Linked DNA regions of Homo sapiens: regions 2, 3 and 4 are each linked to region 1. Evidence: promoter capture Hi-C in 16 types of primary human blood cells and fetal thymus (Javierre and others, 2016). All regions are on one chromosome and are shown on one strand. The core of a region is centred on a gene start or on the middle of the fragment in contact, and the rest is flanking DNA. Distances in the headings are between cores, read along the strand shown. Region 1 holds the start of ZNF326 (zinc finger protein 326). Region 2 overlaps GTF2B (general transcription factor IIB). Region 3 overlaps KYAT3 (kynurenine aminotransferase 3). Region 4 overlaps KYAT3 (kynurenine aminotransferase 3).

Region 1 (7,109 bases), core at 2,840-5,339:
TATCACCTCCCAAGTTCAAGGCCTTAAAATCTTTATATCAAAACTTATGAAATGGCTTTCTCGTTAATTTTCCAGTTTTCAATATAACTTACATGTGGATGCAAATTAAACTTCCTTTGGTAATTTTCAATTTCCAGCTCACAAATACATTCTTCAGTACTAACTCCCTATATGTTAAGCCTTTTTAGCCCACATGAAATCCAAAGTTTATCTTAATCTTTAAAGATAATGAAATAAAAATTAACTGTTCAGTAATTATTCCCATAAATGGCATAGTCTTTAGTATACATTTGCTTCAGTTTTACTTTGTGAATATATTCTATTCTGTACGAAAGTTGGATTTTACATTTCTCTGGCAATCATGATATTTAATGCCTCAAGTCCTTCATATGTTTTTTAACCTGCATTAATTGTTCTGTGTTCTTTTTTTGTATTATTATCTTGTGTGGCAGGGCCCTAACTCTAATAACTATCAAAATGACATCCAATTGTATTCTACATACCTCTCATGATTCTATCTAGTTCTATAGTCACAAGTCTAATGTCATGCTCATGTCAATAAACAATCAAGCTTCTTCATGTGCTCCTCTAGACAGCTCTTTATATACTAACACATTTGGACACACTGAAGAAAATGACCTCAAAAACAAGGTCAAAATGCATTACAATACAAGCTATATAGAACCAAGCCAATAATCCACTTAGTCTACATTACTCAATACCAAAGCCTCTAATTCAACCAAAATAACTCAGCCAGTGTCTTGTGATTCATCACTCAGAATGTAGTTAGGCCCTTTGGAACACATTAAAATAATCATAATTCAAACAAAATGGACCAAAAAAAAAATCAAACTAATGTGAATAACCCCTAACATTTTCTGATAGCACATTCCCCAATTCAAATACTATATATAGTAAGACAATATTAACACATAAATGATATATCAAGAACCAAAACAAGGACTGAAATAGGTAGAACTGGCCTTTTACATTGATACTATATTTTTATGCGCATGAAGAGAAAAGCTGAAAGAGGATACTTACCATTAAAGCCCTGATAAGTATTCCTGCAGGCGGAGTGTGTGTAATCTATGAAGACACATTTAACAAAAAGGAATTAGTGTGATATTAGCAATAATTCAAAATTATATGCCGATCCAGTAAAAAACAAGCACAATTTTTAAAATGACATTAACCCAATTATCTGCAAAACTGAGAATAGTTAAAACAAATAATTACCAATACTCCATTCCAGAAAATGTATCTCTTTTTTCTTCACTATCTCCCCAAATGGTAGGTTTATTATCCAAATTATGGTAAACATTAGTTTACAACACCTGATACATAATAACAGCCAAAAGAGGGGATTCAGCACTGATTTGTACCAAGTAACACAAAGGCAGATAGATTAAATTATGTATCAAATAATGCAAAAGCAAAGACATCTGAGAATTGTACGTAACATGAAATTTTTGCTAAGTTAATTTCTTTTACCATTTAATTTGCTCTTTAAAGATTTCAAGATCTTGGCCGGGCACGGTGGCTCACGCCTGTAATCCCAGCACTTGGGAAGGTGAGGTGGGCGGGTCACGAGGTCAGGAGTTCGAGACCAGCCCGTCCAATATGGTGAAACCCTTTCTCTACTGGAAATATAAAAATTAGCCGGGCCTGGTGGTGCGTGCCTGTAGTCCCAGCTACTAGGGAGGCTGAGGCAGAAGAATCACTTGAATCCAGGAGGCAGAGGCTGCAGTGAGCCAAGACTGCACCACTGCACTCCAGCCTGGGCGACAGAACGAGACTCTGTCTCAAAAAAAAAAAGATTTCAAGATCTTATCTGAGACATGCATATGCATATACATATATGACTGTGTTCTATATTCAAGCAGAATGTGTCATCACTGAAAACCATATTGCCAATTTCCTCATCAAAACTAATTTAACAACTGTTAAATTCTTTAGTTAATTTTACAAATATATACTGAAAGAACAGAATTTAATATAGTGGTCATCTGGATACAACAGAATCCTGCTACACTATACAGGAATAGATTCATATATGGTGTTAGTCAAACTCCATCTTCCAAATACAGCAGTGGTATATTTGGGCAGTGAGACAGGGCGTATTTCATCACTAATATTGTTTAGAATTTCTATCACTGACACTGTTTAGAATTCTGGCATATGGCAATAACAGAAAGCAGACATACTACATTTTATTATTGTTTTTCAATTCTCCATAGAAATGGATTCCCTTATTGCCTTGGGTGGGGAGTGGAAAGAACTGTTTCTACTGCCCCACCTCCACTTTGTTAGCCTCTGCTATACCTTGGGTGTTGGCATTATCATCAAACTACAGCATGAAAATACAATAATATATTTTTTATTTTCACTCCCAACTCTGGCCACTTCAAATATTCATAGTTTTTTGTTTTGTTGTTGGTTTTTTGTTTTTTTTTTTTCAGACGAAGTTTGGCTCTTGTTGCCCAGGCTAGAGTGCAATGGCACGATCTCGGCTCACTGCAACCTTCGCCTCCCGGGTTCAAGGGATTCTTCTGCCTCCGCCTCCCAAAGTGCTGAGATTACAGGTGTGAGCCATCGTGCCCAGCCCAAATATTCATAGTTTAAAGGTATCTACATCAAAATGAGTTAAAGTCCAACCAAAACAAACAAAACCACGAGAGTGTGCTACTCTTAAGAGCTGAACTTACTATTTCAAAGTAACTGAAAAGTATCTACAAGAGGGCTATTCCAGTCCCCTTTCACAAATCTGTACCTAGATATGAAAGCTTTAATTCTTTGTTGCATGAAATGTTATGAAAAATCAAAAGCTCATCGAGTAAGACATATGCTGAGATCACACCTCATTTAAAGATCATTTTTTTGGTGGGGTTAAAAGTTTACAGCCTACTTAGTGAACTGGTTTTACTTAAGCATGCCTGGTTACTCAGGATTAAATCCAGTTTAATCACATAAGTCCTTTCCCATGTCTCCCTAATGTTGTCACTACATACCACTTTATCTTGACACCAATTCCAAGCAAGGTTTGAAAACAAAAGTGAAGACCAAATTAATATTACTTTGTGACCCTGTAAAAGTGGTTTAAAGAATTAGTATCTGAGACAACTGAAAAGTATTGCTAAAATACAGTTTATTTAATCCGTAAGTCAAACACTTACAAGGCTGTGTACAGGTCTAAATGTGAAGGACATTTGATGCTTGCTGTGCCAAAATTCTGATTAACTTAAATCCTACCTACACACGATCCAAAGAAAAGTGCTTTGGTTCACATAAATATTTCAAGTTAGGGATTAATAAGCAGGTAATTTTTGGTGATAAACACCCCAGTTTACTAACCAGGAAACATCTTGCTTTCCATTTTGCATAGATATTTATCTATACATATCACTTACAGACACCCTTTCAACTCATCTTAAACCGGGACAAACAGAAACATCACTGTGAACAAGCCTCTGAAAATTCTATCTGGCAAGAAGTAACCCGAGGCTGAGGATTAACTAAACGGACGGTCTGGGTCGCTGCCCTGTGGGGCGAATGCGAGACTAGGTGGGTGAGGCCGCACTCGCCCGTTTGCCCGAGACCGGGAAGTTGGAGACGTCGGGGCAATTTCCACTACCAGGGGCCAAGGCGAGTCTGGGGCTCCAGCCCGGAGGCTCTCGCGCTCTAGGCGCGTCCTACCGGACACCGAGTTCTCTTGTCTCCGCCGGCAGCGGGCGCCGAGCGGGCCGAATCGGGGCGCGTGGGTCCCCAAAGAGGCCGACTCCGGGCGCTGGGCCCGGGGCGGGCGGGCGGCCTCCGGGCCCGCAGAACAAAGCCCACACGGCCATCTTGAGACGGTAAACAGACCCCCTGCGTAGGCCACCCCGCCTCCTGCCAGCTGCGCCGACCAGCCAGAGGCAGCGCTTACCGTCCTCGAAGTCCATGGCAGAGGCTGAGGGCCGTCGGCCTTGGCGGCGCTAGGCTGAGCTATGGCCGGCGGCGAGCGTCCGCGACCCGCGATTCCACACGATCACTCCGCGCGACCGAGAGCGGCGCGCTACCAGCCCGGGAGCCGCAGGCCACAGCGAGGCTGGGGAGGCGGGGCCGACCGGCGCTACCAGCCCCATCGGCGCGGCCTGCTATTGGCTGACGCGGGCTGGTGGGCGGGCCCTCGCGTGGGGGGCGGGAAGCAGGTCCGCTGTCACGCTCGGAGGTGCTGACCCTCTGGAGCCGCTGACGGGGAAGGAAGGTAAAAAAGGAGCGCTAAAGATTGGCGGGGGTTGTGGGAAAGCAAGCCGAGTGTACGGGAAGGGCCGGCTGCGGCCCGCCATGTTTGAACCTGGCAAGAGCGAAAGAAGCCGGTTGGAATGCCTTCTTCCTGCCCAAACTAATAAAACCGCATGCCTACCTTTTGCTTAGTATTGGCTAGGGATGACTAATCATAACATTTGTAAGTACTTACGGGGTTTCCTCCATGGAGACACAGAAGTCTGGGACGTTTCTAGAAGCCTGTGGCAAATTTGAAAAGCAAGATACAAAATAGCGTATGGAGTCTGATTATCGCTATGTCAATAAATTTTCTTAAAGGACAAAGCACTGAAATAAAATGGAAATAATAATTCTTTTAAAAAATTTTTAAATTATTTTTATAGAGATGGGGGTTTTGCCATGTTGCCCAAGCAGGTCTCCAACTCCTGGACTCAAGCGATCCCCCCACCCCCAGCCCCGTCTCCGCCTCCCAAAGTGTTAGGATCACAGGCGTGAGCCAATGCGACCCGCCTGGAAAGAATTCTAAAACATGGCCTGCTTGGCCACCGCCCAGGATCTGCAAGCTGCGCGCCCACAAGTTTCGGCACCCATTTGGACTTTCACAATCGGAGATGGCAGTGGTGAAGGCATCAACATCAAAAGCTACCAGGCCTTGGTATTCTCATCCAGTATATGCAAGATACTGGCAACATTATCATCAAGCAATGGCTTGGATGCAAAGCCACCACAATGCCTACAGGAAGGCGGTGGAATCCTGTTTCAGTCTTCCATGGTTCTTCCTTCCTGCGCTTCTTCCCCAAAGCTCTTACGATAACCAGGCTGCGTATCCTCAGTCCTTCTATGACCATCATGTGGCCTAGCAGGACTCCCCCTGCAGTTCTTCACATTTCAGAGGGTCTGGGCAACATCCACATGGCAGCAGTAGGATCCAGGCATCCACAAGAGAAGACCAAGCCTTATCCAAGGAGGAAGAGATGGAGACCGAGTCAGATGCAGAGGTAGCATGTGACCTGAGCAATATGGAAATCACCGAAGAGCTCCGCCAGTACTTTGCAGAGACAGAGAGGCACAGAGAAGAACTACTGCGGCGGCAACAGCTGGATGCGGAGCGCCTGAACAGCTACGTGAACGCTGAACACGACCTGTACTGCAACACCCGCCGGTCGGTAGAGGCCCCAGCTGAGAGGCCTGGTGAGCGGCGCCAGGCCGAAATGAAGCGTTTGTACTGGGACAGCGCCGCCAAGATCCAGGCCATGGAGGCTAACGTGCAGCTGAGCTTTGACAAGCACTGTGATCCAAAGCAGCCTAATTACTGGCCGGTCATCCCCCCGAAGTTCTGAGCTCGGGGCACAGGGCACCCAGCCTCTTCCTCTTCCTTTTGGATACGCGCTCTTCATCTCTCCTTCTGTACATTTCTCAGGGAAAGGGGACTTTGTACTGAGGTACAGGCACGTTCACCACAGTCCCAGTGGGCCTGTCACGGGGTGGATGTACTGTGCCAGCCACTTGGAGGTCGGCAGGACATATTCTGTTGCCAACATGATAAATTTTATCCTGACATAAAATGATAATTTTGTATATATTATACTGGTTTTTTATGTTGTCAGTAACAGTTCAATTCATTAAAGTTCTTGCCTAGAAAAAAAAAAAAGAATTCTAAAACATGAACGATGATTCTTTTTGTGATGACTTTTTATATACACATGATTATGTGTTCTTCTATATCTCCAAATTCTTGAGCACTTTCATAATGTAAAATATATATTTGGCCTAAAACAAGATTTATTATTTATTAATGATTAGTGTTTGTTAAAAGTTCTCTTTAGCCAAATATTATGTTTCATTTTCTTTGAAGATATACTTAGTGATGCGGAGGTGGGGGGCTCTCTTGGCCATTTAAGTCAGTGGTTCTTGATTGTGACTCTACTCTGGAATCCTCCAGGGCACTTTTAGTAAGTGCCAATACTCAGGTTTCACTTCAGGGGTTCTGATTTGATAATGAACCAAAACTGTCACCAATGTTTATTTTCAAGACATTTAAAAGAGATGTTATTGGACTAATTTCTCTTCTGTTTCAGTAACCTGTACTCCTTGAGAAAATGTCAAGTCTAGAAAAAATAACTTTAGAGACAGGCTATGATCCAGTTCTGAATTTTAAGGTGCAAATAAAAGAGCTGTAACAGTTCACAGATGGGTAAGATTTGTGGCAGAAGAGTCATCCAGAGCTTGAAGGATGACCTATAGAAACACACACACACATACTGGATTGTATTATTGCCACTTTGGAAACAGTGTTTGAGACATGGACAAAGTTATTCAAACATTCAGGAATCTGGAAAAAGACAAACTGACATTGGAGCAGTTTGAACCACAGATTAAAAAACTTTTTTTTTTTCATAGAGCAAACGGTGGCAACAATGAGTTGATCACCAGATAGGAAACCATGAATCAAATTATTTACCTTTTTTCAGGGTCCACCCAGTTGCTGGAACCAAGTTTCAAGGAGGCAACCTCTGGAAATACAACTACAAGAAAAGCTCACAGATACACTATGTGTATTACTGTTGCCCCGGAAATGGGCAGAGCATTTTTTCCTCCTCCATCCTGATTGATTCACCCTGTTCTCCACCCTTTTCTTGTTTCCTCCTTTTTTCCCTTCTATGCAGATACTTCTCCACTTACTTGAGGTTACATCCCAATAAGCCCTTCATAAACTGAAAATATCACAAGTCAAAAATGCATTTAATATGCCTAACCTATTGAACATCATAACTTCACCTAACCTACCTTAAATGTGCTTAGAACATTTACATTAGCCTACAGTTGGGCAAAGTCATCTGGCA
Region 2 (7,109 bases), core at 2,959-5,458, 1.1 Mb after region 1:
GCCTCCGGGGTTCAAGCGATTCTTGTACTTCAGCCTACTGAGTACCTGGGATTACAGGCATGCACCACCACACCCACCTAATTTTTGTATTTTTAGTAGAGACAGGGTTTCACCACGTTGTCCAGGCTAGTTTTAAACTCCTGGCCTCAAGTGTTCCACCTGCCTCGACCTCCCAGCGTTCTGAGTTTACAGGCGTGAGCTATGGCACCTGGCCCATTTTTAAATAATGTAAAAGTATCCCATTATATTTTCAGCCTTCCCACCAGCCTCACTTCCACTTTAACCAGCAAGACAGTGGAGATTAATCAACTGAAAAAGGAAGATACAATTCACAAGACTTGTATGCTTTCTTGTGCTTGGAATTCCTAATTTTTGCTTGTACTTTTCTGCTATATCAAACCAAAGGAAGTTAATTTTGTTTTTGCTTTTATTGACTTACTAGTATCAAACACCATGTTAAATCTTGAGATCTGAAAAACATATCCAATAAAACTTACTTTCTATAATATATGACAGTATTTCTTTTTGATACTGATTCTTCTAACATAAAATATAACCAACACTTATTTTAAAATATACGGTAGGCTCATTCATAGATATTTGTGGTTAAATGTGTAATATATCTTGTAAGCGAAGAATCCATTCCATTACCAAACAAGGGCAGGTGTAGAAGAGTCTAGGAGCAAAGTTCTGTTTTGCTGAGACTATCATCAAGCAAATTAAGTTGGAAATACCTAAATTGAACATGACACTGCATGAATATAAATCAATATATGACATAAACACCTGTATATATTAATGTCATATATCAATAGTACATTTAGATTGCATTAAAATCATATGTCACTTGATGAGGGTATGTTCTGAGAAATGCATCGTTAGGTGATTTCATCATATGAACATCATAGATGGTACTTAATAAAACCTAGATGGTATAGTCTACAACACACCTAGGCTACATAGTATAGCCTATTGCTTCTGGGCTACAAACCTGTACAGTGGTATTGTACTGAGTACTGTAGGCAGTTTTAACTCAGAGGTAAGTATGTATCTTTTTTTTTTTTTTTTTTTTAAATACATACCTAGCATGTATTTATTCTGGCTTTTGGAGCTTCTGGCCAAACTCATATTCTAGTATGTGGTGTTTTTAACATCCTGTTCAATGTAGGCTTTGTGGGGCATGTCTGACCAATTGTACCTTCACTTACTAGTTCTTTTTTTTTTTTTTTTTTTGAGACAGCATCTCGCTCTGTCACCCAGGCCGGAGTGCAGTGGCATGATCTCGGCTTACTGTAACCTCCACCTCCCAGGTTCAAGTGATTCTCATGCCTCAGCCACTCGAGTAGCTGGGGTTAAAAGTATGCACTGCCACTCCCAGCTAATTTTTGTTATTTTAGGAAAGACGGGGTTTCCCCATGTTGGCCGGGCTGGTCTCAAACTCCTAGCTTCAAAGAGATACCCCCAGCCTCGGCCTCCCAAAGTACTGGGATTACAGGTGTGAGCCACTGCGCCAGGCCCCACTTACTACATTTTTGTAGGTACTCAGGTACATTAACTTATCCAGTTTACCTATGAAAAGTGGGAGAAAGTATCCTTTCATCCCATTGTTCTGTGAGTTGTCAGGGTGCATACAGACCCTGCCATATATGTGAATGTGTTCAGCTCTCTGGAGTCAGTGCCTCCAGTATTTATATATCGAAACATAGAAAAGGTACAATGAAAAGACAGTATTATAATCTTAAGGGACCACCATTGTGTATATAGTCCATTCTAAGCCAAAATGTTATGCAACATGTGACTGTATATGTAATTGAATTTGCATCAGCTCGCTGGTTTAAAGGCATCTGCTCTTCATTGCCAGCTCAGTTCAGCCTTTACCTCTTACACTAAGAAAATGGGGAAGAAATCAAGGTGGGCAAATATTCTACAACCCACTAAGGGACAACATTTGTGACTTTTTTCTTATTTAAATTACTGTTTTTCATGGGAATTTGAATCCAGACATCAAGTGTTTCCTAATAAATTATCTTGGTATACATGATTGATTATGCTTGCCATAAAATTTTTTACATTGTCTGAAACTTTTTAGATTAAACCATATTAATTCAGTAAACATTTTCAGAATTGTTTTTGGACAGTCCCATTTTTCTTTTCTTTTTCTTTTTCTTTTTTATTTTTTTGAGATGGAGGAGTCTTGCTCTGTCGCCCAGGCTGGAGTGCAGTGGCACAATCTCTGCTCACTACAACCTCCACCTCCCGGGTTCAGGCAATTCTCCTGCTTCAGCCTCCGGAGTAGCAGGGATTTACAGGCACATGCCACCCCGCCCGGCTAATTTTTTTGTATTTTTAGTAGAGACGGGGTTTCACCATGTTGCCCAGGCTGGTCTCAAACTCCTGACCTCAGGTGATCCACCCGCCTCGACCTCCCAAAGTGCTGGGATTACAGGTGTGAGGCACTGCGCCCAGCTGGACAGTCTTATATTTAATTAACGTTTAATTTGTGCTTGAAAATTAGGACAACCCATTGTCACTAATTCCTCTTAATAGCAAACTTAAGCATAGATACGGCCCAACTTGCATAATCAGAGCCATATGTCACCCTCTCATCTGTGTTAGCAACTAAGAGAGCCCATTACTATTACTTTTTTTTTTTTTTTTAAGATGGAATCTCACTCTGTTGCCCAGTCTGGAGTGCAGTGGTGCTATCTCGGCTCACTGCAACCTCCACCTCCCAGGTACAAGCGATTCTCGTGCCTCAGCCTCCTGCCTGAGTAGCTGGGACTACAGGCACCCACCACCGCACCTGGCTAATTTTTTGTATTTTTAGTAGAGACGGGGTTTCACCATGTCGGCTGGGCTGGTATCGAACTCCTAACCTCAGGTGGTCTGCCCACCTCGGCTTCCCAAAGTGCTGGGATTACAGGCACGAGCCACCATACCTGGCCACTATCACCTTTTTTAATGAAATAATTCATAATACCAAAAGTATATTTATCTTATAAGCTTATATCTTATACTTTATACCTTTTTTCCTGCCTCTAATAACATTTATCTCATTGTCTGTCAAACCTCCTTCTTCTTGAGGCCCACCCACCACCAATCTGAAAACAAGAGGCAAGTGTTTATTTTTCTTAAAGCAACATAATACTTCAGGAACCAATTTTTGTTTCATTTACAGTTACATTACAAACTACCTCAAAACTTAGTGGCTTACAACAACCATTTTATCTTGCTCATGATTTTATGAGTCAGTAATTTGGGAAGGATTTATCTGGGCAGTTGGCACCGGCTGGGCCTGTAAGATCTGCTTCTATGATAACTTCTTCACTTGCATTTCTGGTTCCTCCGTGCTCCTTGACCTCCGCACATGGATCTGTCATCCTCCAGGGCTTCTCCATAGTTGTCTTACAGTAGTCATATTTTATACTACGTGGTAGTTGGCTTCTAAGAGAAATACCTCAAGAGCAAGTGTTCTGAGAAAGTGGAAGCTAGACATGGGTAGGTAAGGGTTATGCCTAGAACTGGCACAGGATCACTTCAGTATTGTATTCGTCAGAGCCATGATAGGACCCACCTGAGTTGAAGGGAATGGGGAAATAGGCTGTACCTAAACTTGATACTGACGAGGTCACATTGCAGAAGAACATGTGGATGGGAGATATTGTTGCCATCTTTGGAAAATACAAATTGTCACACATTTACTGTCCTTTGATAATGCTTTTCCCCAGTATTTAAATAGCTATGTATTATTTAGTGTCTCTTAAAACTTGTTTCCAATTTTTGTAGCTATAGTTAATGCTATTCAACATGTGATAGTTGTTTAATTGGTTCTCTTTTATTTGAATTACAAGATTTTTATTTGAAACATATGAAGTGTTATGATTTGGTATTAGCTGCCCATTTCATCAGTGATCCTTGAGATACTGGTAGTGACTCTAAAACAACCAATTTTTTATTTTTTTATTTTTGAGACAGGGTCTCACCCTGTTCCCCAGGCTGGAGTGCACTGAAATCATCTCGACTCACTGCAACTTCCACCTCCCTGGTTCGTTCAAGCGATCCTCTCACCTTAGCCTCCTGAGTAGCTGGGACTACAGGCACACAGCACCACACCTGGCTAATTTTTGTATTTTTTTGTAGAGACGAGGTTTAGCTGTGTTGCCCATGCTGGTCTTGAACGTCTGGCCTTAAGCAGTCTACCCGCCTTGGCCTCCCAAAATGTCCACGCCCAACCTGGGCCAATTCTTAAAGTTTTGTTGTTCCTACTGTGAAACTGTTAGTTGTCTTTGCTTGTTTGTTTGTTTTGTTTTTGAGACCGAGTCTCGCTCTGTCGCCCAGGCAGGAGTGCAGTGGCTTTATCTTGGCTCACTGCAACCTCTGCCTCCCGGGTTCCAGTGATTCTCCTTCCTCAGCCTTCTGAGTAGTGGGATTACAGGTGACCACCACCATGCCCAACTAATTTTTGTATTTTTAGTAGAGATAGGGTTTCGCCATATAGGCCAGGCTGTTCTCAAACTCCTTACCTCAAGTGATACACGTGCCTCGGCTTCCCAGAATGCTGGGATTACAGGCATGAGCCACTGTGTCCGGCCGAAACTGTTTGTTCTAACAGCACTCTTTTGTGGGGGTTTTTTCCCAAATTCCAATTGTATGATTATGTCGTTTTAAAAGTTGAACACTAGGTGGCAGTATTATTGTATTTAGATAATCAGTTCATGAATTTGACCTTGTACATTGCCCATAAATTGATTTTTATAATCAGTAAAGTATTAGCTTAGTAACCTGCCATAATTGCTATTAAAACATAAAATTGGTCTATCATGACTTTATAAATTATTTCACAATGAGGAGTTGTTTGAAACTAGTAGTAGTATTTCTAGTTAAAGCCACTTTTTTGTGTACCATTTAAATCTAAATTATTTGATTGTATGTAAAAGCAACGTAAGGAAAATACTGGAAAATAGCTTAGGTATATTTGAAAGAGAGAAATGAGTCCATTTGACCTCTCCCTTCTACTAAACTCATTCTGCATATTGTTTATACCAGCGAATCTGAAATATGAATATATAAATGGGCATTAAGAGTCAGCTGGGGAATGTGCTTAAAAAGATTCTAGGCTCCATTCCCAGAAATTCTAATGTAGGTCATACATTGGTAACATATTGAGGAACACAAATCTGTACTACTTTATAATTTACCACATTCTTTTGGATTTTCTGTACGTTTAGATTTTTTATCTTCATATTTTCCATGTCTTCACACCTACACTGCAAACTCCTTTGGGGCATATATTTTATAATTGTGTGTCTCCATTGCTCCTAGTATAGCTAGAAGTCAGTGTCTCTAGAATTGAGGGTTGGCTTTACTAATTAGTAAGCTGTGTAACTATAGTTACATACTTTGTTCAAGCTTAATTTGTTTCATCTGTAAAATCTTTTTTCCTCACCCATGAAAGACAGATACATCTCAGAATTGCTGAGTCAGATGAAATAATGTATAAAATATATAGTGTAATTTTAGTATAAGATTTCACTGATACATATTGTGGAGATACAAGTGCTTTTTTTTGAGACAGGGTCTCGCTCTGTTGCCCAGGCTAGTGGCATGATTATGGCTCACCGCAACCTTGACCTCTCAGGCTCAGGTAGCCTCCTGCCTCAGTTTCCCAAGTAGCTGTCGCCACGGGCTCAAACCACCACCCTCAGCTAATTTTTTAAAAAATTATTAATATTTGTAGAGACAGCATCTCCCTGTGTTGCCCAGGCTGATCTCGAACTCCTGGGCTCAAGCAATCCTCCTGCTCCAGACTCCACAGTGCTAGAACAGGCATGAGCACTGTGTTCGGCTTCCCCCTTGTTTTTTTTTAACCTTGTAGAAAAAGAGGGTGATTCTAAGTGTGAGATGCCACATTTCATAGCATGTCAGTTGCAACATATCTTTGAGTGATTGCTGTGGGTCTGGTATATTTAATGCTCCAATTATAGTATGTTAAAGATTATTGGGTTACCCTCTTTCAGTTAGCATTAACAGTGTTTCCTAAAGGAAAAAATCAGGTTTCATTTAATATGGCCAAGTTAAGTTTTTAAAATAAACGTATTTGTATTCACTTACAAGTTATTTCTTTGGCATCCCTTGTAAGCCGTTAGACACAGCCTTCTTGCCTAATACAGCTTTTAATTTGGGTGCAGTTTTTCTCTTAAACATCAAAAAATTACTCATTAACTGCTTGAGTAGCAGACTGCCCTTTGAGCTGGTTTGTTTCCATTTTACAGAAGGGGAAACTGAGACTCAGAGTGCTTAGGTAACTAGCTCAAGATTCCCATCTTCTGAGTGACAGAGCCACATAAATCCAGGTCTATGGGACTTAAAAACCTTTTTTTACCATATGTCTCAGTTAAGCACTGTGCTGGTTGGTCACTGAGAGTGATAGAAAGATGAGAATGCTGTAAGCAAACCCTGGAGCAACTCTTTGGATAGTGTATGAAAGAGAGTAGGGTAACTTAATACAGTATCCGCGGTAAAAGCTACATTACAGATCTTCCGAGTATGGTGACATCCTGAAGATAGTACTGTTGAATTTCGAGTGAAGCATAGTTTTTAAGAATGAGTAAGGATTTATGGAGAGAAAATGATTCCAAGTAAAGAGAAAAAGAAACCTATGCCATAGGATAGAAGCCTAAACAGTAGTAGTGAGTGAGTGGCCAAATTTATTGTGGCCAAATTTAGGATACACCTTCAACCAGTGCATCAGCTCCTCATCTTAGATGCTGCTGCTCCTATCGACCTACTTGTATTTGAGGAAAATTGAAATGTAATAAGATATCCAGGGATGGAGCTTACAATGTATTTTCCTCACTATTTTCCACTATCACCTTGAACAGTTTTCTTTACGGTCTAAACATCAGGGGCAAAGTAGGCTTTTATGGGCTGGTCTGGGAAATAAACTGTGATATGCTTTGTTTCTAGGAGATAATTCATGTTGAGTTCCTACTCAATTTATGGCAACATAAACTGTGATTTAGAGACTGGTGATTTAGAGACTTGCTGTATTATTAATAGTATTTCTTTATAAAGTATCTCTTGGTCAGCATTCTCTTCAAAATTGTCTA
Region 3 (7,109 bases), core at 1,780-4,279, 1.0 Mb after region 1:
AATGCATCTGACAAAATTCAACCCTCATTTATAATAAAAGTTTTCAGCCAATTAGAAATAGAATGGAGCTTTCTCACTCTGATAAAAGGAATCTATGAGAAACCTACAGATTACACCTGTAGTGCACATAATATAGTAAGATTGAAAAGACAGCAAAGATGTCCACTCTGACCATTGTTATTCATCAGTGTACTGGAGTCCTGTGAGATATAAAGATACATAGATTAGAAAGAAGAAAAATGTAAACTCATTTTCAGAAAACATGATTGTGTACATAGAATATCCTAAGGAATTCTAAAAGAAAAAAAAGCCTACTACAACTAATAAATGAATTGAGCAAGGTCACAGGACACAAAGCCAATATACAAAAATCAGTTGTATTTCTATATATTAAAATGAACAATTAGAAAGTAAAATTTTTTAAATACTATTTATAGTAGTATCCCAAAACACAAAACATTTAAGAATAAATTTTTTAAAATATATCCAAGATCTGTACGATGAAATCTATAAAACATTACTGAGAGAAATTAAGCAATACCTAAATAAATTGGGAATGATGTTCATGGATTGAGAGACTAAATATTGTCTATGTCAGTTTTCCCAAATTGGTCTATAGCAGGGTTTTGCAATCTATGGCCTATGGACCCAATATGTCAAATTTTGTAAATAAAGTTTCATTAGAACACAACCATACCCACTTATTTATTAATATGTATATTCTAGTTTTTGTAAATACATAGGTATATACATGTCTATGTGTTTTTATATTGGTATAAGCACTGAGAGTGGTGTTGCACTATCACCAGGCTGTGGACATTCATCACCTCAGGGGGATGGGAATGAAATAATATTGAGGAGCGATTGTAATTTTTATACATCTTTGCCTAGTTTTACTTATTGCATGAAGCATAAATTATTTTTGTATTTAAATTTTTAATTTTAAAAGCACAAACACTTATCATTCTAAGAAATGTATATAGTGTTTATAGTTGCTTTTCAGATCTCCTCTTGCTAGAATTTGTTAGACCTGCTATTAAAGTAAAATTCAAAGGAACTCAGTTTATTGCTCCAGAGCCCAAAGTGCTTTCAAACAAAGGTACATGACCTGCACTTGCACTCTTACTCTCAAGGGATAGAAAATCAGGATGGTACTTCAAAAGCAAAATGAGGAGGTAGATGCTGGACAGAAAACAACAGGAAATATTGACCTAAATACCAAATAAAACAAGGAGGGGGAAAGGAAAAGGAAGAAAAAAAAGGAAGGAAGGGGAGAGAGCCTAGAAGAGAACTTAGGGAGAGCTAATCCAGGAGTCTTCAGACCCCCTGCTTGCCTCAGGCTGTACCTTCATAATCCCTTCACTTCTCCTATGAAAGTAGTTACCTTGGATAACCACTGCTCTCTTGACTGTCAGTGTGAGTAGTGTCTCACTTCCTTCTAACATTTGCTATCACATCAACACTAGTGTTCGTGTCGTTGGTGAATTTGTTTTTGTTCTCTTTCCCTAGTCCATTGGTTGGCATAACCATCTCTCCAGCAATCAGGAAGAGCCAAGGAGTGGGTATACAGTTAAAGTGGGTTTTTTTCACTTATTTTAACTGGGAAACAAATCCAACTCTTTTCAATATGATTTAATTACTGTCAAAAAATACAAATGGTTGATTTTTATTCAAAGCAAATACTTTGAAATTATATAATCCCAAACCCTTTATTTAGTAAGAAGTTTTAATCATTAGCAAGCCTTCATGACAAATAGTGTGGGAATACTCTAAATGTAGGAAATTTTAAAAAATTTATTGCCATTAAAAAATATAAATTTTCTTGGGGTAATTATAAACATCAAATCCAAATTTTAAAAATTCTTACATTTTAGAGCCATATTACCTCAAACAGTAGGTCCCATATTTAAATTCAAGGTTTTGTTCTTATTTTTAATCCAACAGGGCCATCCATCACTTGTGAAAGCTCTGTCCTATCTGTATGAAAAGCTTTATCAAAAGCAAATTGATTCAAATAAAGAAATCCTTGTGACAGTAGGAGCATATGGATCTCTTTTTAACACCATTCAAGCATTAATTGATGAGGGAGATGAAGTAAGTATATTAACATTATCGTAATACCCATATTAATCAATTATCATTTGTCCCACCTTTGAATCTTTCGCTTATATTCTACTCTTTTCTCTTTTTATTTTTAATTATGTTTTAAGTATAATGCATGTACAGTAAAGTTCACAAATCTTAAATGTACAGCTGGATAAATTACTGTGTAAATTTCTGTGCAACTACAACCAGACAAAGATATGATACATTTCCAGTACCCAGAAAACTTCTTTGTTCCTCTTCAGAGTCTATATTCTCCCAGAGGTAAGTACTCTTCTGTCTTCTATTACCATAGGCTTGTTTTCACTGCTCTTTTACTTAATATGAATATAATTATACAGTGTATACTCTTGGGTCTAGATCCATTCATTTATTTTTGTGTCTGTGAGATTCATCCATTTTGTTGCATATAATTTATTCTTATTTTTATAGCCTATTTAAATAAGGGCAGATGGAAGGGACTAACACTGCCAGGGAAAAAGAATCTTTTGTTTTCATTGCTAAAATAACCTTTACTCTTAACTTGGTCTACAAGTTTTTGATCAATGTCTTTGTGTGCCCAGTAATTGTATAAGCCATCCCATGTGAGGATGTTTTTGTGATTGTTTTTGTTTTTTTGAGATGGAGTCCCACTTTGTTGCCCAGGCTGGAGTGCAGTGGCACGATCTTGGTCACTGCAACCTCCACCTCACGGGTTCAAGTGATTCTCGTGCCTCAGCCTACTGAGTAGCTGAGATTACAGGCGCCCGCCACGAAGCCCAGCTAATTTTTGTATTTTTAGTAGAGATGGGATTTTGCCATGTTGGCCAGTCTGGTCTCGAACTCCTGACCTCAGGTGATCCGCCTGCCTCAGCCTCCCAAAGTGCTGGGATTACAGGCGTGAGCCACCACGCCCAGCTGAGAATGTATTAATATAATAGGAAGGTAAAATGATTTCTGCGATTTAGTACTGTGAGGTATGACCAACTTTTGCAACTACCTCAGTCATCTCTACCCGTATTTCCCATTAGCATTCCAATAGCCTTACTTTAATACTTTTTGCCTCTTTCATTTATTCAGAAAATACTGAGGATCCAATATATGCTAAGCACTGTGAGATAGAAGATGTTTTAAAGATAGATTCTATGCAGAAGGTGTTCCCTGTCTAGTAGAGAACACAGACTTGCAAATGGATTACGAGGAACACTATGGTAGTGACAAAAGGAAGAGGCAATCACCTCTGCTAAGTCTGGAAAGCTCCAGAGAGACATTGCTTAAGCTGGGACTGCAGAACGAATATTTATCCTGATCTATATTGTTAACTTTCTTTAAACTCTCATAACCCTTTATCATACCACTTTTATGAAAGATGCCACTATCTGCTTTGTGTTATGTTATTCTTTTACAACTTTGATTCCCTTCACTATGCCAGACAAGATGTTTAAGGAAACATGTTAATGAAGTTCACAGTTTCATATACATAAACTCCTTTAATCCTATACATAGTTTTGTCTCATACTTCGATGTTGTTAATCCTTTGTTGCTTCTTTCTCTGCACTCTGTTGGGAGTATTATAAGGCTTAGCCCTTAGCTTTCTTTCCTCTATTCTTTCTTCCTTCATCAACTTATCTAGTATTTTGAAACCACATACATGTCACTTGCTATCATACTGACCTATTTATTGTTTCTTTATAGCATTTATTACTATCTGAAATTATCTAATGTCCTTATTTGTCTCTCCGTTCATTATAAGCCTCTCTCAGTAGGATATAAGTTCTAGGAGAACTTTATAGCTTTACTGCCAGCACCTAAAATAGTGAGGACGCAATAAATATTCTCAAAAAAAAAAAAAGAGAGAGAGGAATTGTTCACATCATAAAAGTGAAAAAATCAAGGCGAAGAGTAACAGGTATATTTCTCCCACTCTACTGCCCTGCCTCTCCAATTTATTTTCCTTTATTGTGCTCTCACCTTGTATTAAGCTTTATATTTCCCACTAGAGTTACAAAGATAGATTGTCTTAGTCCCTGAGAACTTCACAGATGAGGCTGAGTGTGGTGGCTCAGGCCTGTAATCCCAGCACTTTGGGAGGCTGAGGCAGATCACCTGAGGTTAGGAGTTTGAGACCAGCCTGGGCAACACGGCGAAACCCCATCTCTACTAAAAATACAAAAATTAACCGTGCTTTTGAGAAGAGAGAAACATCTTTACTCTCAAGATAATGCTTTTAAATTAGCACTTTATACCAGGGAACATTACAGTGTTCTCTTCCCACATAGCCTGCTGTCTGTCACTGCTTATACATCACTTATATTCTAGATTTTATTTTCTGATTTGAAATATGAAGAAATGCTTAATCGTTTTGCCTGGAATATCCCTTTGAGAATGTGATAGTCCCATTCTCCAGGTAAATCTATCTATGCATATATGAAATTTTATATGTAATTTCAAATACTCCCACTGCATGCTTATTTATAGATCTCCCTAAGATACCAAGGAGTCCAATTAAGACTACCTGGACAAGTTTGTCTCCGAGGTCTCTTCCCCTCAGATGTTAGCTCCACAAGGGCAAAGCCTGCCTTTTTCACTGCTGTATCCCAACACATAGTACAGTGCCTAGCCCATAGTAGGTACACAGTATTATTAACATGAATAAATGATTGACAGGTTGTGATCTTATTTGCTTTTATTGCAGGTCATACTAATAGTGCCTTTCTATGACTGCTATGAGCCCATGGTGAGAATGGCTGGAGCAACACCTGTTTTTATTCCCCTGAGATCTGTAAGTTTGCCAGTATGGTTCATATGGCAAAGTTTCAAGACTTAAGAAGTCTTGAAAATACCAATTACTTTGTCATGATAAAGTTTCTACTTTGATTGCATTTGGAGATTTCCTGTATATCTCTATTTGTCTAGTTGTCTTTTTAAAATATTTTTAACATAAGTAATACACTAAGGTGAGTCACAAAATCTTCAGCTAGCCTTACAATATCAGACATGTTAACCATAGTTATAGCTAGTTCCTGTGAAGTAATATTAGCAGCAGTTAATGTTGACAGGGCTTATTTTTCCATTTAACAGGTGTGAGCATAAGACTTAGGTTTTCTTAGGCTCTTAAGCAGAACTACAGCCCAGTTATTTCTGTTTATCTTCTTTGTTAGTCTTTTTCTAGTTTTTTTTCTGTTCCTACTGCAGGAAAGCATTTGTTGGTAATTTATTCAGTTTCCTTTGCCATGACTTTCTTTGATGTTTTTTTCCTTATTAGGTTATTCGTTTGTAAGACAGTAAACATGACTTAATTGAATTAAATTATATCTTCATTCTTCATGCTTAGAAACCTGTTTATGGAAAAAGATGGTCTAGTTCTGACTGGACATTAGATCCTCAAGAACTGGAAAGTAAATTTAATTCCAAAACCAAAGCTATTATACTAAATACTCCACATAACCCACTTGGCAAGGTAAGCAAGTCTCATCTCCTTATACAGTCTTCTGACCTATCATTTTCTCACATGTTGAATAATTGGCTGTGCTCTTTCCTTTATTATGTGTAGGTGTATAACAGAGAGGAACTGCAAGTAATTGCTGACCTTTGCATCAAATATGACACACTCTGCATCAGCGATGAGGTTTATGAATGGCTTGTATATTCTGGAAATAAGCACTTAAAAATAGGTACCAACTATAACACAGAGTCACATATCTAAATGTGTTTGGGCACATATGGAAGAACTGATTGGAAAGCATCCCAGACCAACTCTAAAACAGTCTTTGTAATGGGTATCTGTCTGTATGAACACTTTAAAATAGTATTTAAATGAGCAATACTTTAGTGAATTGATGAATAGTTCAAAGGACAAAGAGTAAGAGATTTTGGATCATACTATAAAGCTATGATACCAGAAAAGTAGTTCTTTTGCCCATATATCCCTGGCTTCTTAGCAGAAATCCAGCAATTACTTGGTACATAAGACACAGGGAGCTTTCTTGTGCCTGAAAAGGTTCTAGACGGTCTATGCTGAACAACTTACCAAAATGCCAAGTCAACAGAAAGAAATTACAGGGGTAGTCAGGTATGCTGCTTGGCCCTTGCTTGAGATTCAGCCATTACTACTGGGCTATCTCATGAATGCCGTACTGTCTGCTGGGGTAGTCCAAACCATGTCAACTATAGGATTACAAACTGGGCTGCAACTTTTGGGTCTTCGCACCTCCCTTTCCTTTGCCTGGAAACACTTTTCCTCCAGGTATCCACCTGACTTCAAATATCCTTCACCTCCTTCAGGCCTTTGTCCAATGTCAGTTTTCATGACCATCACATTGAAAATAGTTAACACCTCTCCCTCCAGCATTTGCTTTGTCCTTTTTCTGTTTTGTTTTGTTTTTTCCTCTATAGTAAATATCAGAATCTATATATTTTACTTCTAAACCACAGTAATGGAGGGATTTTGTTTGTTTTAGTCTCTTCTGCATCCCCATTTTCCATAGAATCTTGTACATGGTAGAGAATTAGAAAGAAATTGTTGAATAAATGAAGATGAAAGATGAAAAGATTAAGAGAAGGATGACTAAAAAATGTGGCAGAGATAGATAAATTTTAAAATTTAGGCCAGGTACAGTGGCTCATGCCTGTAATCCCAGCACTTTGAGAGGCTAAAGTGGGTGGATTGCTAGAGTCCAGGAGTTCAAAACTGGCCTGGGCAACATGGAGAAACCCCGTCTCTACACAGAAATTCAAAAAATCAACCAGGTATGGTGGTCTGTGCCTGTAGTCGCAGCTACTTGGAGGCTGAGGTGGGAGGATCCCTTGAGCCCAGGCACCACTGGCTCACTGCAGCCTCCATCTCCTGGGCTCAAGCAATCCTCCCACCTCAGCCTCCCAAGTAGATGGGACTGCAGGCACAGACCACCATACCCGGCTAATTTTTTTTAAGAAAAATAAAAATAAGAAATGTAATGCACTTATATATTAAATTGTTGCATTGTTGCATGTGCCATAATTATTCCTATAGTATATTACAAGTTGCT
Region 4 (7,109 bases), core at 2,581-5,080, 1.0 Mb after region 1:
ATATTCGTTTCATCCACATCATCCTTAATGTCATGAAAATCTGCCGGGAAGGGAATAGAATGAAGGATAGGCTGTATTTTCCTGTATTACTTGCTTTTTTACAAAAACATTTTACATATTCTCTAATTTTAAAGAATGTTTTGAATGCTAAAGGAAAAATGTAGGCGGGGCGCAGTGGCTAACACCTGCAATCCCAGCACTTTGGGAGGCTGAGGCCAGTGGATCGCTTGAGACCAGGAGTTCAAGACCAGCCTGGGCAACATGGCAAAACCTCATCTCTATTAAACATACAAAACATTAGCTGGGCACACACCTGTAGTCCAGGATGGTCTCAATCTCCTGACCTTGTGATCCACCTGCCTCGGCCTCCCAAAGTGCTGGGATTACAGGCGTGAGCCACCGCGCCTGGCCCTAAAATAGTCTATTAATTTTTTTTTTTTTAAGAGAGTCTAAAATTTAAATGTCCACCAGAGAAGCGCAAAAGCAACACTGGACAAAACCTTTTCCTTAGGTCTGTCCTTCCTTAAGGAAATCAACTCTCTCTGTCTCTCTCTCTCTCTCTTTTTTTTTTTTCATACAGTCTCTCACTCTTGCCGCCCAGGCTGGAGTGCAATGGCGCAATCTCGGCTCACTGCAGCCTCCGCCTCTCGGGTTCAAGCAATTCTCCTGCCTCAGCCTCCTGAGTAGCTGGGACTATAGGTGCCCGCCACCACTCCCGGCCAATATTTGTATTTTTTGTAGAGACGGGGTTTTGCCATGTTGGCCAGGCTGGTCTCAAACTACTGGGCTCAAGTGATCCACCCTCCTCAGCCTCCCAAAGTGCTGAGATTACAGGCATGAGTCACTGCGTCCAGCCCAACCCTCTCTTTTGATGTGAAAGTATCACCTTTTGTACATTTAGTCCATACCCAATATCTCTTTGCCTCCTTTAGTGCAAAGTTACTCATCCTTACTTGTATCTAAGAGAATCTTTCCTACTTTCTGAGTGGGCACTAGTTTTGGAGTATATATATTGTATGCCATGAACTATATTTTTCTGCTTATGGCTTTGCCTCATTTAATTGCCATAGCACTTACATGGGGCAGGTATTCATTTTCCTGCTTAGCAAATAAGGAAACTGAATTTCAGAGATGTCAGGTAACCTGCCTACTTCACACACTAGGAGTTTTGATGTTTAATTTTGAACTAAGATCTATCTGGCTTGAAAGCTCTTTGCATTAAACAACCTTGAACAATATACTTGGAACGTAGGTGTGTTTTTGGCACAGAACATGGCATGTGTGTGAGGGATTGAACACAGACTTGCCCAGATTCAAACTTACCAATCTTCTGTTTCATGTGCCCAGAAGAAACAGCCTGTTTCTCAGCCTCAAACCCAAACTTCTAGTTGTCTTGATTGGTTCAGCCTGACTGTCCAACTCTGATTTATAGCTGTGATTGGGGGAGCTGAGATTACACAGTGTAGGCAGGCAGAAGGGCCCCAGGCCTATTGATATGGGTGAGGACAATACTCACGCACTCCCTTCACTTACTCACTCTTCCAAGGTCTTGGCTTGAACCCAATTTTTTTTGAGAGAATAAACCAGGCTTTTTGTTCTCCACTTGGCCTGACTCCATTTCTGGCATTCCAGCCATGTATTTAGCTGTTATCAGCTTTCAGATTTAGAGAAAGCCTTGTTTCCAATAAGCTTGTTTCTCTGAAGTAATTGTTAAAATATAATTTTCAGAAAAAGGTTAAATCATGACTCATACAAATATAAAAATGAACATGTGCTAAAGATTTTTATTTCACTCATGTGATATGAAGTAACCAGACAGAAGTTATAACCAGTACATATGGAAAGTCAAAAAGCACAAATTCATATGTAGTAAAGGAATTGGATTGCAAATGAAGGCAAAACTGTTTTTTCTACAGGGTGGAGGGAAGATAATCAAAATGCTAGAACCAGAATTTGCATGCCTGTCACTTAGCTTCAATTTACAAAAGCCCAGAATAACTCAAAGGCAAATTCTAGCCCTGCAAATATCAGCCCTAAAGCTGTGCTGTGGCCAGTGCATAGTTTTCTATTGAAGTACAATTTTTTCCCCAAATACATTATCTCTCAGAGGGAGTCCAAATTGCTTCCCTTTCACTCAGCAGATCTGTTCAGTCAACAGATGTTAAATAGCTACAGCGTATCAGGCACAAATAATTCTTTATAAAATAAAGTAACAAACTATATGTTGTTTCAAAGTTCCAGTTAAGGCCAGCCGTGGTAGCTCACCCTTATAATCCCAACACTGGGAGGCCGAGGCAGGCGGATCACTTGGGCTAGGAGTTCCATACCAGCATGGCCAACATGGTGAAACCCTGCTCTACTAAAATACAAAAATTAGCCAGGTGTGGTGGCGCATGCCGGTAATCCAAGCTACTCAGGTGGCTGAGGCACAAGAATGGCTTGAGCCTGGGAGGCAGAGGTTGCAGTGAGCCAAGATTGCGCCGCTGCACTCCAGCCTGGGCAACACTGTGAGACTCCTGTCTACAAAAAAAAAAAAAAAAAAAAAAAAAAGCAACAAAAAAAGGGCTCCTGTTAATTATACACACTTTTGAGCTTAATATAATTGCATTTTTTATGTATCTTTAAGCATCTTTCCCTGCTTTACATTTCCACTTCTGAGTTTTACTTTCATTTCTTCCACCATTACAGGAACATTCTGTTGTTTTCCTCTGCCATCTAGTGGCAAAAGAAAGTAATTTTCCTGGTTTTTTGAATGGATAGCCATACCTTAAAAAGCATCCAGATTGCGCAGTAGTGCTAGCGGCTTCGCGGTTCAGTCCTCCTAACTGACAGCCGCCACTGGTGCTGAGCTGCTAGGAAGCCCCTGTCGGCGAGCTTGTTGGAGCTTGAACCCACTGTCACCCCTCCGACTCACCGGCAAAAAAAAAAATGGTTGAAGCAGATCGCCCAGGAAAGCTCTTCATTGGTGGGCTTAATACGGAAACAAATGAGAAAGCTCTTGAAACAGTATTTGGCAAATATGGACGAATAGTGGAAGTACTCTTGATAAAAGACCGTGAAACCAACAAATCAAGAGGATTTGCTTTTGTCACCTTTGAAAGCCCAGCAGACGCTAAGGATGCAGCCAGAGACATGAATGGAAAGTCATTAGATGGAAAAGCCATCAAGGTGGAACAAGCCACCAAACCATCATTTGAAAGAGGTAGACATGGACCGCCCCCACCTCCAAGAAGTAGAGGTCCTCCAAGAGGTTTTGGAGCTGGAAGAGGAGGAAGTGGAGGAACCAGGGGACCTCCTTCACGAGGAGGACACATGGATGATGGTGGATATTCCATGAATTTTAACATGAGTTCTTCCAGGGGACCACTCCCAGTAAAAAGAGGACCACCACCAAGAAGTGGGGGTCCTTCTCCTAAGAGATCTGCACCTTCAGGACTAGTTCGCAGCAGCAGTGGAATGGGAGGAAGAGCTCCTCTATCACGTGGAAGAGATAGTTATGGAGGTCCACCTCGAAGGGAACCGCTCCCCTCTCGTAGAGATGTTTATTTGTCCCCAAGAGATGATGGGTATTCTACTAAAGACAGCTATTCAAGCAGAGATTACCCAAGTTCTCGTGATACAAGAGATTATGCACCACCACCACGAGATTATACTTACCGTGATTATGGTCATTCCAGTTCACGTGATGACTATCCATCAAGAGGCTATGGCGATAGAGATGGATATGGTCGTGATCGTGACTATTCAGATCATCCAAGTGGAGGTTCCTACAGAGATTCATATGAGAGTTATGGTAACTCACGTAGTGCTCCACTTACACGAGGGCCCCCGCCATCTTATGGTGGAAGCAGTCGCTATGATGATTATAGCAGCTCACGTGATGGATATGGTGGAAGTCGAGACAGTTACTCAAGCAGCCGAAGTGATCTCTACTCAAGTTGTGACAGGGTTGGCAGACAAGAAAGAGGGCTTCCCCCTTCTGTAGAAAGGGGGTACCCTTCTTCACGTGATTCCTACAGCAGTTCAAGCCGCGGAGCACCAAGAGGTGCTGGCCCTGGAGGAAGCCGATCTGATAGAGGGGGAGGCAGAAGCAGATACTAGAAACAAACAAAACTTTGGACCAAAATCCCAGTTCAAAGAAACAAAAAAAAGAGTGGAAACTATTCTATCATAACTACCCAAGGACTACTAAAAGGAAAAATTGTGTTACCTTTTTTAAATTCCCTGTTAAGTCCCTTCCGTAATTTTTATGTTCTTGTGAGGAAAAAAGTAAAACATGTTTAATTTTATTTGACTTTATGACATTGCTTTTCAACAAGCAAATGTTAAATGTGTTAAGCCTTGTAGTACTAGTGTTGTAACTTTCCAAGTAAAGGTGTCCCTAAAGACCACTTCCTATCTGGTTTTTCCCAGTAAATGAGGCAAGCAATTCTAAGATCTTCCACAAAACATCTAGCCAACTAAAATGGAGAGATGAATCATTCTGCCTATACAAACAAGCTAGCTATTAGAGGGTGGTTGGAGTATGCTACTCATAAGATTTCAGGGTGTTTTCTAACTGAAATCTCACTGTTCTCAGTATGCAAAACCTGAAATCAGATGCCTATGTAAGGAAAGTGCTATTCACCCAGTAAACCCAAAAAAAGCAAATGGATAATGCTGGCCATTTTGCCTTTCTGACATTTCCTTGGGAATCTGCAAGAACCTCCCCTTTCCCCTCCCACAATAAGACCATTTAAGTGTGTGCTAAACAACTACGGAATACTAAATAAAAAGTTTGGCCAAAACCAACCATGAAGCTGCAAAGGTGCTTGCTCTTACTCTTTCAAATTTTTGCAACTCTAATGTCTCACTTTTAAAGGAACAGCTTGATTGCAAAGGAGAAAATAGATAAGCAATGAATTTATCTCCAACTTCCTAAAGGCTTATGACTTCTAAAAAGTGAATCTATCAGCATTCCACATCAGATTTAAAGCATCAAATGCCTGTGAAACAGCAAAGATGGTTGAAGATTGTGCTCATTATGTTTGTGGAGTGCTGATTGATTCACAGTAGATAACGCTGGCAGTAAGAGAAATCAAATGCTAAGAGTTGTTGAAGCAGAAGGCGGCTGATTGTTGGTAAGTCAGTGCAGTTGCATAAGCAGTGCTGTCAGAATTGGTTTGGTGCAGGCAATAGATTTTGCCTTCAAGGGTTCCTGTGGATCTCAGGAAGGCATCAGTGTTGATTAACACTCATAACTAGGGAGTGAGTGGTAGTTACTTAAGTAATTGACCAAATGGAAAAGGGGAAGTAATTAAGGAAATTGGTAAGTGGAGGTAGTCAGGAGGTTCTCGTGGTCCTTTACACAGATTTTACAGCTTTGGGTTTCATTTTGTTTAGCTAAAGTCATGGGGACAACTCTTCAATTTAGAACTTAAGATGAATTATAAAAATGATGGATATAAGTGGTAGCTCTATCTGGTGAAGTGTCTTGTCAGTAAGTGAAACATTTTTTTGTGGTGGCTTATCCACAAACAGTTTAGTTGTAGAATAAAACTTATGAGTGACATCTGGAAAGTAACAACCATGCTAAGATGGCAAACACACTGGAAACAATTGGGCCACTTGGCTTTCTTTTGCTGTATTGTTTTATAAGCCTGCTTTACCTCCCCGTCTTGGAAACAAGTTTTAGTTTATTGCTTTGGAGACTAGAGCCAATAGTGTAATGTTCTCAAAGGAAACAGACTTGAGTTGTTGGATTAGAGGAACTAACTCAACTTCTAATTTTTTTTGTTGTAATTATGGCACTGTCATGTTTTAACATTTGCAACTAGGGATAGTAAGTACAACATTTTTAACTCTCATTTGGCAGACTACTACTAATCACAGACCACAAGGGTAATGACCAAATTTATGTGGTTGTTACACTTCCATAGTTGTCTTAGCCGAATCCTTCCATATTCTTATGATTACTTGGGTTAAAGCTTCTGTGAGGACCTTTTGGCTCTTAAGATATCCTAAATATTTAAAATATTTAGATATCCTAAATATAGGATATAGAGTTTGTACCAAATATGAATGAATATTGTTCAAAGCAAGGAGTATGTTAAAATGACCAGACACCTGTTTGATAAATAGTTTACTGAACTAGCAGACGTGTGGAAAAAGAATCAGATCTTGATTCTTCTGGGTTTATACTGGTTGTAAAACAGAATGATATTAGAAAATGTTTTCCTTGTTTAAGTGGTAGTTGAACATAGAACTTGGGTATTATAGATCACTTTTCACTTTTTGGAATGTTTTGTATTGAAACTTAATACAACTTTAACATGGCAAAAAAAAAAAAAATCCAAAATCTATGAGATAATTTTGTTAAAGTTGGCTTGCTTGGGCGGGTGCTTGGTCCAGAGGGAGAAAAGAAGGCATGATTTCAGAATACTCTGGCAGCTTTTTAAATTCAGCTTTATCAAGTTACAGTAAACTGTATCTGTTTAGAATTACAACTCAATGGTTATTTTGACAGATGTATATGCCATGAAGCCACTGTCACCATCAACATGCAGAACACTTCCATCGCCCCCAAAAGATTCCTCAAGTTCCTTTGCAGTCCATCCCTCACGCTGCTGATTTGTCTTTGTCACCATATATTAGTTTGCTTTGTGGTGGTGTTTAGTATTTTATATAAATGGGATTGTGTAGCATGTACTTTTTTGTTTATGGTTTCTTTCACACACAATGACTTTGAAATTCACCAGGTTGCAGTGTATCAGTAGCTTATTCCTTTTATTGCTGAGTAGTGTCCCATTATGTGAATATGCCATTATTTGTTTTTCTACTCACCTGTTGATGGACCTTGGGATTGTTTCCAGTTTGGGGCTACTGTGAATAAAACTGTTAGGAACATTTGTGTACAAGCCACTGTGTAGACATAGGTTTTCCTTTCTCTTGGGTAAATACCTACCAGTAAAATGGTTGGGTTGCATGGCAGATTTATGTTTAATAAAGTAACTGCCAAACTGTTTGTTTTCCAAAGGGGCTATACCCTTTTATATTCCCACCAGGGTTGTATAGAGTTCCAACTGCCAACACTCAGTTTTCAGCCATTCTGATGGGAATCTAGTGGTATC

What was found. The method cuts DNA at HindIII sites, captures the fragments that hold promoters and counts their contacts. A CHiCAGO score of 5 or more calls a contact.
Region 2: a fragment that was not itself captured here is called in contact with the fragment with the promoter of ZNF326 in region 1 in 2 of 17 cell types (activated CD4 T cells and monocytes); the score reaches 5.9 in activated CD4 T cells.
Region 3: a fragment that was not itself captured here is called in contact with the fragment with the promoter of ZNF326 in region 1 in 6 of 17 cell types (activated CD4 T cells, total CD8 T cells, naive CD8 T cells and 3 more); the score reaches 9.6 in activated CD4 T cells.
Region 4: a contact is called between a fragment that was not itself captured here and the fragment with the promoter of ZNF326 in region 1, in 9 of 17 cell types (neutrophils, naive CD8 T cells, total CD8 T cells and 6 more). The highest score is 13.6, in neutrophils.

The regions. Positions count from the first base shown.
Region 1 is chr1:89,992,090-89,999,198 of GRCh38, reverse strand. ZNF326 (zinc finger protein 326) reads right to left here and starts at 4,089. Exons shown (of 12, transcript NM_182976.4): 1 at 3,926-4,089; 2 at 1,045-1,089. The coding sequence starts at 3,941. It also overlaps the pseudogene GEMIN8P4. RefSeq lists enhancers at 3,374-3,423, 3,305-3,870, 3,871-4,437 and a silencer at 3,644-4,283. The HindIII fragment of the contact is 7,808 bases long and covers 2,789-7,109 here.
Region 2 is chr1:88,875,133-88,882,241 of GRCh38, reverse strand. The region is part of intron 2 of GTF2B (general transcription factor IIB); the gene reads left to right. Among named protein-coding and RNA genes, the nearest start is that of GTF2B, 13 kb to the left of the region's middle. The HindIII fragment of the contact is 2,406 bases long and covers 3,006-5,411 here.
Region 3 is chr1:88,959,814-88,966,922 of GRCh38, reverse strand. KYAT3 (kynurenine aminotransferase 3) reads left to right here. Exons shown (of 14, transcript NM_001008661.3): 5 at 1,945-2,094; 6 at 4,778-4,864; 7 at 5,417-5,542; 8 at 5,636-5,756. Among named protein-coding and RNA genes, the nearest start is that of KYAT3, 29 kb to the left of the region's middle. The HindIII fragment of the contact is 2,075 bases long and covers 1,992-4,066 here.
Region 4 is chr1:88,979,646-88,986,754 of GRCh38, reverse strand. All of the region lies in intron 2 of KYAT3 (kynurenine aminotransferase 3), which reads left to right. RBMXL1 (RBMX like 1) reads left to right here. Exons shown (of 3, transcript NM_001162536.3): 3 at 2,689-7,109. The coding sequence starts at 2,929. The coding sequence ends at 4,101. Among named protein-coding and RNA genes, the nearest start is that of KYAT3, 9.4 kb to the left of the region's middle. The HindIII fragment of the contact is 4,277 bases long and covers 1,692-5,968 here.